3 separate regions of the Homo sapiens genome follow, and all the other regions are linked to region 2. Evidence: promoter capture Hi-C in human tissues and cell types (Jung and others, 2019). All regions are on one chromosome and are shown on one strand. The core of a region is centred on a gene start or on the middle of the fragment in contact, and the rest is flanking DNA. Distances in the headings are between cores, read along the strand shown.

The links. Contacts are between HindIII fragments. The study calls those that stand out against the background at their distance.
Region 1: a contact is called between a fragment that was not itself captured here and the fragment with the promoter of RNF166 in region 2, in 1 of the 25 tissues and cell types used here (lymphoblastoid cells).
Region 3: a contact is called between a fragment that was not itself captured here and the fragment with the promoter of RNF166 in region 2, in 1 of the 25 tissues and cell types used here (lymphoblastoid cells).

What each region holds. Positions count from the first base shown.
Region 1 is chr16:89,924,773-89,927,786 of GRCh38, forward strand. All of the region lies in intron 1 of TUBB3 (tubulin beta 3 class III), which reads left to right. Among named protein-coding and RNA genes, the nearest start is that of TUBB3, 2.9 kb to the left of the region's middle. RefSeq lists an enhancer at 500-1,400 and a silencer at 1,167-1,826. The HindIII fragment of the contact is 3,668 bases long and covers 1-3,014 here.
Region 2 is chr16:88,704,898-88,708,049 of GRCh38, forward strand. RNF166 (ring finger protein 166) reads right to left here and starts at 1,511. Exons shown (of 6, transcript NM_178841.4): 1 at 1,274-1,511. The coding sequence starts at 1,428. CTU2 (cytosolic thiouridylase subunit 2) reads left to right here and starts at 1,606. Exons shown (of 15, transcript NM_001012759.3): 1 at 1,606-1,701; 2 at 2,239-2,313. The coding sequence starts at 1,634. RefSeq lists an enhancer at 986-1,623 and silencers at 1,245-1,524, 1,565-1,874. The HindIII fragment of the contact is 44,302 bases long and covers 1-3,152 here.
Region 3 is chr16:89,728,525-89,731,563 of GRCh38, forward strand. ZNF276 (zinc finger protein 276) reads left to right here. Exons shown (of 11, transcript NM_001113525.2): 6 at 711-794. Among named protein-coding and RNA genes, the nearest start is that of ZNF276, 8.5 kb to the left of the region's middle. RefSeq lists enhancers at 133-704, 842-1,011. The HindIII fragment of the contact is 6,200 bases long and covers 1-3,039 here.

The DNA of each region.
Region 1 (3,014 bases), core at 1-2,500, 1.2 Mb after region 2:
AGCCTGGGGGAGGGGAGACCTGGGGGACAGTGGCCTCAAATCAAACCAGGACTCCCGGAGCAGCCTCTGACAGCTGCCTTGGCCTGATGGGAGGGGCTGAGGGCTCATTAATGTGGTCACTGGGGCCAAGCCTCCCCTGAGCATCTGCTCCTGGGAGGGTCAGGGGTCGCTGGGGGGAGGGAGGGCAGGCAGCCCTGGGGCTCCTGGGAGGGTCAGGGGTCTCTGGGGAGAGGGAGGGCAGGCAGCCCTGGGGCCCACCTGGGGTTTCTCCTTCTATGGCTGGGATGGGCCCAGAGCTGTGGTCCCACAAGGCACTTGTCAGGCAAGAGCTGGGATCTAGAAGTCAGGTGCACATGCAGACATCCCCTGAGGCTCCACGGGTAGCAGAGGGAGCCCTTGTCCCCTGGACCGTGTCCTTGGCTGCCTTGTGCTCTGCTTCTGAACACTGGAGCTCTTAGTTTGCCCGCTACTTTTTATTCCTTTTGAGTTGTTTGTTTTTTCTTAATATATTTCTTTTTAAAAATTAATACCTGGCCGGGCACGGTGGATGAGGAATCTCATGTAATCCCAGCACTTTGGGAGACTGAAACTGGAGGATCACTTTAGCGAAGGAGTTCAAGACCAGCCGGGATAACATGGTGAAACTCCGTTTCTTAAAAAAAAAAAAAAAAAAATTAGCCTGGCGTGGTGGGCCGCGCCTGTAGTCCCAGCTACCTGGGAGGCTGAGATGGGAGCATTGCTTCAGCGTGGGAGGTCGAGGCTGCAATGAACTATGACCGCACCACTGTACTCCAGACTAGGCGATAGAGTGAGATCCTGTCTCACAGTAATAATAGTATCTGATTCTTTTTAACAATGAAAGCAACAGAGAAGGAAATTTTCTCGGGGGCGGGGGCGGCAAGAGCGTGTTCCTTTGCTCTGCTGCCCTTGTGGAATCAATGGGAAGTTCCTTGGCCGTTCTCGGCCTCCACTCCCGCAGCTGATAGGGGGTGCAACGCGGCTGCTTCCCTGTCTGGGGTCCTCGGGCGGTGCCTGGCTGGGCAGGAAGGCCCGTGCACTCTGGGCAGAGGGAAGTCGGGGTGACTCGAGGCCGGGAGCAAAGCCGGGTCCCGGGCGGTCACGCGGCAGCGCGGACGACTCACCGCGGTCACCCCTGCGCTGGGAGCCGAGCCCCCGGCAGCTCGCGGGGATGCAGTAAGCCGGGCGCAGCCCGCCGGGAGGATGAGAAAACCCGAAGCCCGGAAAGCCGAGCGGCCGCCTGCAGTCACCCCGGGGGGGGCAGGGGCGGGCCGGGCTATGCAGAAACACCGGGGCCCGCGGGACACAGGACGCTGCCCCACTGCCGCAGAGCTGAATCTGGACCCCCGGGCTTTGCTTTCCTGGGGCCTGTGCTCCTCCCTCCCCGGGGCGGGGTTCGCCTGCAGCGGCGGAGGGGGGAGCCTTTGTCCTCCGCGCGGGCTGCGGCACCGCCTCCTCGCGGCTGCGGGGCGGGGCTGGGGGCGGGGCCTGGCCGTCTCAGCCAATGGGAGGCGGAGTCCCTGGCTCGCCCCGCCCTCTCGCCTGAAAGACCTGCGGAGCCGCGGGCCGGGCGGGAACCGCATTCGGGTCCTGGAGGGGCTTGGAGGCCCCAGTCTCGCAGCCCCTTCATCGGGGACCCCCGCTCCCACCTGCCTTGGCCACTGCCCTCAAAGCCCGGCCCCGCTTTCCCCAGGACCCCAAGCGCTGCGCGAGGTCAGCACCAAGGACAGCGCCCGGGCCGAGCGCCTGGCCTCGAACGCCGGGTTCTGCTTTGTGTTTCCAGGTTTTTGTTTTTGGTTATGAGAGGAGGCCTGGCTCTGTCGCCCGGGCTGGCGTCCAGAGGCGCGATCTCGGCTCACTGCAGCCTCGGCCTCCCGAGTAGCTGGGACCGCAGGCGCTCACCACCACGCCTGGCCACAATTTTCCTTTTTTCTTATTTTCTTTTAGATGGAGTTTGGCTCTTGTTGCCCAGGCTGGAGTGCAGTGGCGCGATCTCGGCTCATTGCAACCTCCACTTCCTGGGTTCAAGCTATTCTCCTGCCTCAGCCTCCTGAGTAGCTGGGATTACAGGCGCCCGCCACCACACCTGGCTTATTTTGTACTTTTACTAGAGATGGGGTTTCTCCATCTTGGTCAGGCTGGTCTCAAACTCCTGACCTCAGGTGATTCACCTGCCTCAGCCTCCCAAAGTGCTGGGATTGCAGGCATGAGCCACCACGCCGGGCCGATTTCCTTTTCTGTAGTGATGTTAACAATTTAGTTTATAAAATTATATTTTATTGTTTATTAAATATGTAACATAGGCCAGGTGCGGTGGCTCACACCTGTAATCCCAGCACTTTGGGAGGCCGAGGTGGGTGGATCACCTGAGGTCAGCACTTCAGGGCCAGCCTGGGCAACATGGCAAGACTCCGTGCCTACAAAAAATAAAAAACAAAAAAAATTAGCTGGACATGGAGGCACGCCGGCCTGTGGTCCCAGCTACTTGGGAGACAGAGGTGGGAGGATCACCTGGGGGAGGTGGGCAGAGGTTAAAGTGAGCTGAGGTCATGCCCCTGCATTCTAGCCTGGGCAATAGAGCAAGACCCTATCTAAAAAAAAAAAAGGAACAATATATTTTATTACTTTATCTCAAATTATAATTTTATTAATTTTAACTACAAAAGCAATTAATATATTCTCCTGGTTAAAAAAAACCTTAAATATTGCAGATAAACCTGGTGCCCATCTAGCCACCTCTCTCTATCCAAGTGGGAACAAATTTCTTTTTCTATCCTTCTGGTCCATTTTTTTTAAGTGACCTGTGCATATGGTTTTAAAACTTTAAATAGTATCTAAAACATTTGAACAAAATGAAGCCAACATGTGCTGAATGTTTTCATGTCAAGCTTTGTGCTAAGGCCTGGATGTGGGCACCATTCACACGTTCATCTCACAGATGAGAAAACAGGTCCTGCGAGGCACGCGCCTGGCCCACAGCTGTGCTCGTGCTGGGT
Region 2 (3,152 bases), core at 261-2,760:
GAGGATCACTTGAACCCAGGAGATGGAGGTTGCGGTGAGCCGAGATGGCGCCACTGCACTCCAGGCTGGGTGACAAGAGCAAGACTCTGTCTCAAAAAAAAATATTCCCGTTCAGAGGCTGCCCCCCCAAAATGTCACGGCTAAGTGAGATGGAGGAGCAGGGGCAGAGCCTGTAGCAGCCTCACAAGAGAAGTAGGTAGAGCTGTCCCAGCGTGGGCAGGCGCCTGTGCTGCCTGACACAGGTAATGAAGGCAGCTCTGCATCCTGACACTGGCCCTGCCACCTCCGTGGGTGACCAGCACACATCCACCTAGCAGTCCCAGCTCCCTCTGTACCAGGAGCCCCTGAAGTCAGCTGACTTTGCTTGCAAAATGTTCTAGAGCCTCCTACCAGTCTGGGTGCACCCCCCTCCACTCCACCACCTCAGCAGCTTGGATGTCTGCGGGGAAGCCCTCCTGCTCTCTCTCTCCCCTGCCACTGCTGATTTTGCTCAAGAGCTGTATTATTCAGCACTTAGGAGGGAGCAGACACTGATCTAGGCTTCCTCCCAACGGGGCTGGCAGCTCCAGAATACTTGAGCACAGCTCCCCGCCAGGAGAGCCACGTCCTCCAGTTTCTGTTCCTGAAACACCCTGGAGGAGCCGGCTGTGAGCCCTGGTGCAGCTGGAAACCCCAGCAAGGTGGTCAGTGTCTGCTCCTCTGTGGACCAGCCTGCCTGGCTACTCAGTGATCGGTGTGACTCAAGTTCTCCTTCAAACAAAACTAAGAACATCAGACTCCAAACAAGCCCCTCTAAACTTTAGGGAACTCCTTTCCTCTGTAGTCAAAACAGGCAGACAGCGGGTCCGAACAAGAGTTGATAGCAAAAACTACAAGTTATTTATTTACAACTGCCCATTCCAGCCGCACAAGCCCAAATCCACCACCACTGGCGGAGCGGTGGCACCTGCTGCCCTCTGAGTACCGGAGCGCCCGCCGCAGCCGCCGGGGACCCCGAGCTTGGGCAGGGCCGCAGGTCGCCCGGTGAACCGAAGCAGCAGTCGGACCGGGCGCCTGCGGCTGGCGCGAAGGAGGCTGGGCGGGGGATGAACGCGCCCAGAGGGCAGAGGCGGCGCGGCACAGGGAAACCCGGACCCCACGCGCCCCGAGGCCCCGGCGCCCCGAGTCCCCGCGCGCCCAGTCCGGAGCTGCACCGGGGCGGCCGCCGGCCTCGCGACCCCTCCCGCGGCGGGGCACGGCCCCCTCCCCGCGGCCCCTGGGCGGGCGCGCTCACGTGTGGCCGCAGCTGCCGATGGCCACGGGCCGGTGATAGACCTCCAGGCAGATGGGGCAGGTGTACTGCGCCTCCAGGCCGCTGTCGCCGCCCGCCGGCCCGGCCGGCGGCTGCCGCTGCTGAGCCGAGGCCACCAGGCTGCGGAACATAGCCATCCCGGGGCCAGGCCCGCGCCGCCCGCCGCCCGCTGTCCTGGCCCGGGCCGGCCCGCTAGTCACAGCCGCTACTGCGCCGCGCTGACGTCATCGTAGGGCGCCGCCCCCAGCCGGGCTTCGCGGCCGTCACGGCGCCACTCCGACGTCATCGGGGCGCGCCCTCGCGCTGTCGCCGCCACAGTCTGCGACGGGACCCGGCGTGCCCATGTGTCAGGTGGGCGAGGACTACGGGGAGCCGGCGCCTGAGGAGCCGCCCCCGGCGCCGCGGCCCAGGTAAGAGCTGGCGGCCGGACCCGCCAGGCCGCCCCTCGCCTTCCCGCCGCACTCCTGCCCCGAAGGGTCCCGGCCGGGCTTGCTCCGGGAAGCCCCGCGTGGAGAGCGGGACCTCGCTCCCTAGCACTCGGGGAATGCCTGTCAAGCGGTGACGGCCACCTAGAAGGGGACTTACTCCACTGGCTCGCGCCTCTCATCCTAGCAGCCACTGGGGACGGCTCTGCCGCTGACAGTGCTGTCCTTATTCGGAGAGAACTGGTGCCGTGAAGCTGTCTCGCCTCCCCGTGTCAGCCTTGGGAGACTGAAAAGCGGCCTTTATGTGCCCCCTGAGCCGGCTTTTCTAGGCTAAACATCCCCCCAGAGCCTTTGTTTTTCTTGAAGTTTGGACAGAACACAAGCCTGGGTTTGTGTGTGTACCGAGGTGCCTTTCTCTGACCCAACTCAGGGTGAGAAACAGGAGCTGTCTCCCCAAAGCCCACTAGGCGTGGGGAAGATGTGATCTGTGTTTCTCTCTTCTCCCCCCTCCCATCTCCAAAGCCGTGAGCAGAAGTGTGTGAAGTGCAAGGAAGCGCAGCCCGTTGTGGTGATACGAGCCGGAGATGCCTTCTGCAGGTGAGGCCTGGAGGTGGCTGAGACCCTGGCAAACATGGCCTCGCTAGCAGACAGGATAGCCGCAACTTGTGATGCTTTGTTAATTCTTTTTAAAAACATGTACTTACTTTATTCCTGCTCCTGATGGGGTCCCTCGTGCCCCTGGTGTTGAAGTGGAGGCGAAAGCATTGGTTTCCTGCTTGGGAAAGTTTCCCATGAGCTAGCCACAGATCCCCTGATGAGGTTTCTGATGGAACTTATGGGGACAGTTGGAAGTGGGGCCGTGGTGTCTAGACTGGGATAAGCTGTAGGAGGACCAGGCGTTTGGGGGCAGCTGGAATACATCTAGGGGCGGATCAGAGCATCTTGGGAACTTGGCAGATGGTCTGGGTGAAAGTTTTTAATCTCGTGTGAGATGCTTGTTTCATCTGTGGCAGGATAGAGGCTTGGAAGACCTCTAGCTTTCCCCCAGGCGCTTGTCATGTCTTTCTTGGCTTGTAGCCATTGTATTGTTCAGTTGTTTCCACTAGACTCATAGCTCCCTGAAGGGAGGACCAGGTCTCTCTCCTTTTAGCCCTCTTAATTCCCAGTGGTGGTGCGTGGTTTTTTTGTTGTTGTTGTTGTTTTTTTTGAGATGGAGTCTCCCTCTGTCACCCAGGCTGGAGTGCAACAGCTGGAGTGCATGATCCCAGCTCACTGCAACCTTTACCTCCTGGGTTCAAGTGATTCTCCTGCCTCAGCCTCCTGAGTAGCTGGGATTACAGGTGCCTGCCATCATGCCCGGCCAATTGTTTTTGTATTTTTAGTAGAGACAGGGTTTCACCATGTTGGCCAGGCTGGTTTCGAACTCCTGACCTCAA
Region 3 (3,039 bases), core at 22-2,521, 1.0 Mb after region 2:
TCTGAGTCGCTGGGACTACAGGCACCCGCCACCACGCCCGGCTAATTTTTTGTATTTTTAGCAGAGACGGGGTTTCACTTTGTTAGCCGGGATGGTCTTGATCTCCTGACCTCGTGATCCGCCCGCCTCTGCCTCCCAAAGTGCTGGGATTACAGGTGTTAGCCACCGCACCCGGCCAATTTTTGTATTTTTAGTAGAGACGGGGTTTCACGGTATTGGCCAGGCTGGTCTTGAACTCCTGACCTCATGCGATCCACCTACGTCACCCTCCCAAAGTGCTGGGATTACAGGAGTTAGCCTCTGCACCCAGCCACTTTTGTGAACTTAGAAGTGACTCATGGCAAACCCATCAGTTGCATAGGGTTCGCAGTTATGGGGTGAGGTGGTCGATTTCTCAAAGTCTGCTTAGCAGGAAGCTACCTTTGAGCGCCTCCACCCCTTCTGGGCCGCTGTGGAAAGGGCTGTTTCCAAGTCCAGTGTCCTGGTGCCCAGAGCACATGGCTTGTGGGGATTGCTGGCTTGTGAGCCTGGCTGGCCCTTTGTGTTCGGAAACGGGATTGGAAATTTGGGGATTTTAGATTTAAGACATTTTCAGAAGAACTCAAATGTGGGACATGGGGGTCCATTTGGTATCTTTAGGCAGGAGGTCGTGTTGGGTCTGTCACTGCCCAGGCCCAGGGCTTTGCTGAAGATTCTCTCTTAATTCCTAGAGACGTCTTGAGTGAAGATGAAAATGACAAGAAGCAAAATGCCCAGTCTTCGGACGAGTCCTTTGAGCCTTACCCAGAAAGGAAGTAAGTGGGCAGCCCGGGGTCTGCTGGAGGCATCCGTTGGGCGACCTAGACACCCGCCTGTGCTCCAGGGCCTCTCCCCGGTGCCCACTCAGTTCACTCTCTCGTGTGCGGATCTCCCGAGCCCAGTGAAACGTGGCTTCCCTCAGTGAGCGGGAGGCGGGGGAGGGGCAGGCGGGCAGGTGAGAAGGTGGGTCCTCCTGGTGCTTTGGAGCTGGGACCTGGTCTCGGCACTGTGAGGCTGCCTCAGAGTCCCAGCAGTGGATGGCAGGTGTCTCTGTCGACAGAACCCCGCCTTGCTTGAGAAGGAGGCTCTTACGTCCCTTCTGCCGGTCCTGCCCTGGGTTCACACCCCAGTGTACCCCCGAAGCCCCCAACCCGTCGCTTCTGCTTTGTGTGCGTCCCCAGAGGCCCGAGGACCCAGCTCTGTCATCCTCCCAGTTCTGACCCCATCACTGATGTCCATGGCCAGGCAGCCACGGTCCACTTCCCTGTTGAATGACTTCTGTGAGCTTGTTTTGACTTTGTTTTTAGGGATTTTTATTTTCTCTCTTCAGTTAGAACACAGGCCCTGGTAGTGAGGGCTGGTTTTCACTTGTGCTGTTTTCTTTGCAGCCCTATACCCAGCAGTACCCAGAACACTCCCAGGTAGTTGGTGACTGACCCAGTCCCTGTCCTTGAGCATTTCACAGCCCAGAACAAAGGTCCAGAGGGCAGGTGGCTCTGAGCACCACCGTCAGCCACTAGAACCCTGCTGTGCAGACTGAGAGGTCAACGGCCTTTTTTCATGGAAGTTCTGATGCTGTTAAGTTCTGAAAAGAGAAACGGGAGCAGTGGAGGAGGCCCGGAGAGAGATGCGAAGCAGAGGGCAGGACTGAGCCAGAGGGGCTGCAGCAGCTTCAGCATGAACAGAAAACTGGTCAGGCCCAGAAAAGGTGCCCGGGGGTCCCTACCCCCAGGCTTGTTCCCAGGAGTCATGGCTGGGAGTGCCGCCTGAGGCTGCTGTACGGAAGCCCCCACTCCGTGACCCTCCGGGTTGAGTCTGAATCCCAGGACACCTGAGAATGTGTCTCTGGCTTGCTGCCCAGAAGGTCTGGGGCTGCTGGTGTGAGGAGGGCTGGGAGCTGGGATGGGAGGAGCCAGGCGAGCCTTTTCCGGATCGAGGCAGATTCAGGAGGGGAGGGTCCTCTCTGCTGAGCCCCTGCTGCTGTGACAGGGACAGCACACTCAGACTGTGTCACTAGTCCCTCTGGGACCCCAGGAGTGCAGACAAAGACGTGCTTTGGAACAGAGACACGGGAGATACGTTTTCAGAGGTCTCTAATAAAAGGGGTGACTTCAGTGGAAACCGCTGCGCAGGAGGCAGGACTGGGTGGTAGCAAGCATGGCCTCCTGACTGCGGCGAGTACCAGGGGCACTTGGTTCCCCAGCTGCCACCGTGAGACCCCCCTGGGAACCCAGAAGGGCCTCTGCACAGCCCCCGGCCCGTGTGCTGCCTCCCAGTCTTGTCAACCCTGACCTTGGAGTTCTAGCGGGCGTGCCCGCCTGTGTCCTCAGCTGGGGGCGCATGAGAAGAGACTTCTGTGATGTGTTAATGAGGGGTCAGTGGTTCCCGCCAGAGGGGAAGGCCAGGGCCTGCACCCCCATGGGGAAAGAACTGACAGGCAGCAGTGAGGCCTGAGCCCAGCCCACCCGGTCCGCAAAGATTCCCGTCCCAAACACGAGGGCACAGAGACTGCGGGTGCTCTGAAGCCTCCTGTGCTGAGGAGGTGAGTGGTCATTGTGGGAACGGCATGGCCAGCCACTCACAAACAAGGGGCCACCCAATCCAGGCAGGCAGGGCAGGTGAGGGGGACATGTGGCTAGGTCATGAAAACCAGTTATTAGGGACAGGGAGAGAAGGCGCAGCCTGTGCGAAGTCAACAGTTCTTCTCAGTGCGTTTTTGTCTTGTTTCTGAGATGGAGTCTTGCTCTGTTGCCCAGACTGGAGTGCAGTGGCACGATCTTGGCTCACTGCAACCTCCGCCTCCCGAGTTCAAGTGATTCTCCTGCCTCAGCCTCCTGAGTAGCTGGGATTACAGGCATGTGCCACCATACCTGGCTAATTTTTGTATTTTTAGTAGAGATGGGATTTCTCCCACGTTGGCCACACTGGTCTCGAACTCCTGACCTCATGATCCGCCCGCCTCAGCCTGCCAAAGTGCTGGGATTACAGGCGTGAGCCACCGCGCCGGCCTCAATGCACTCT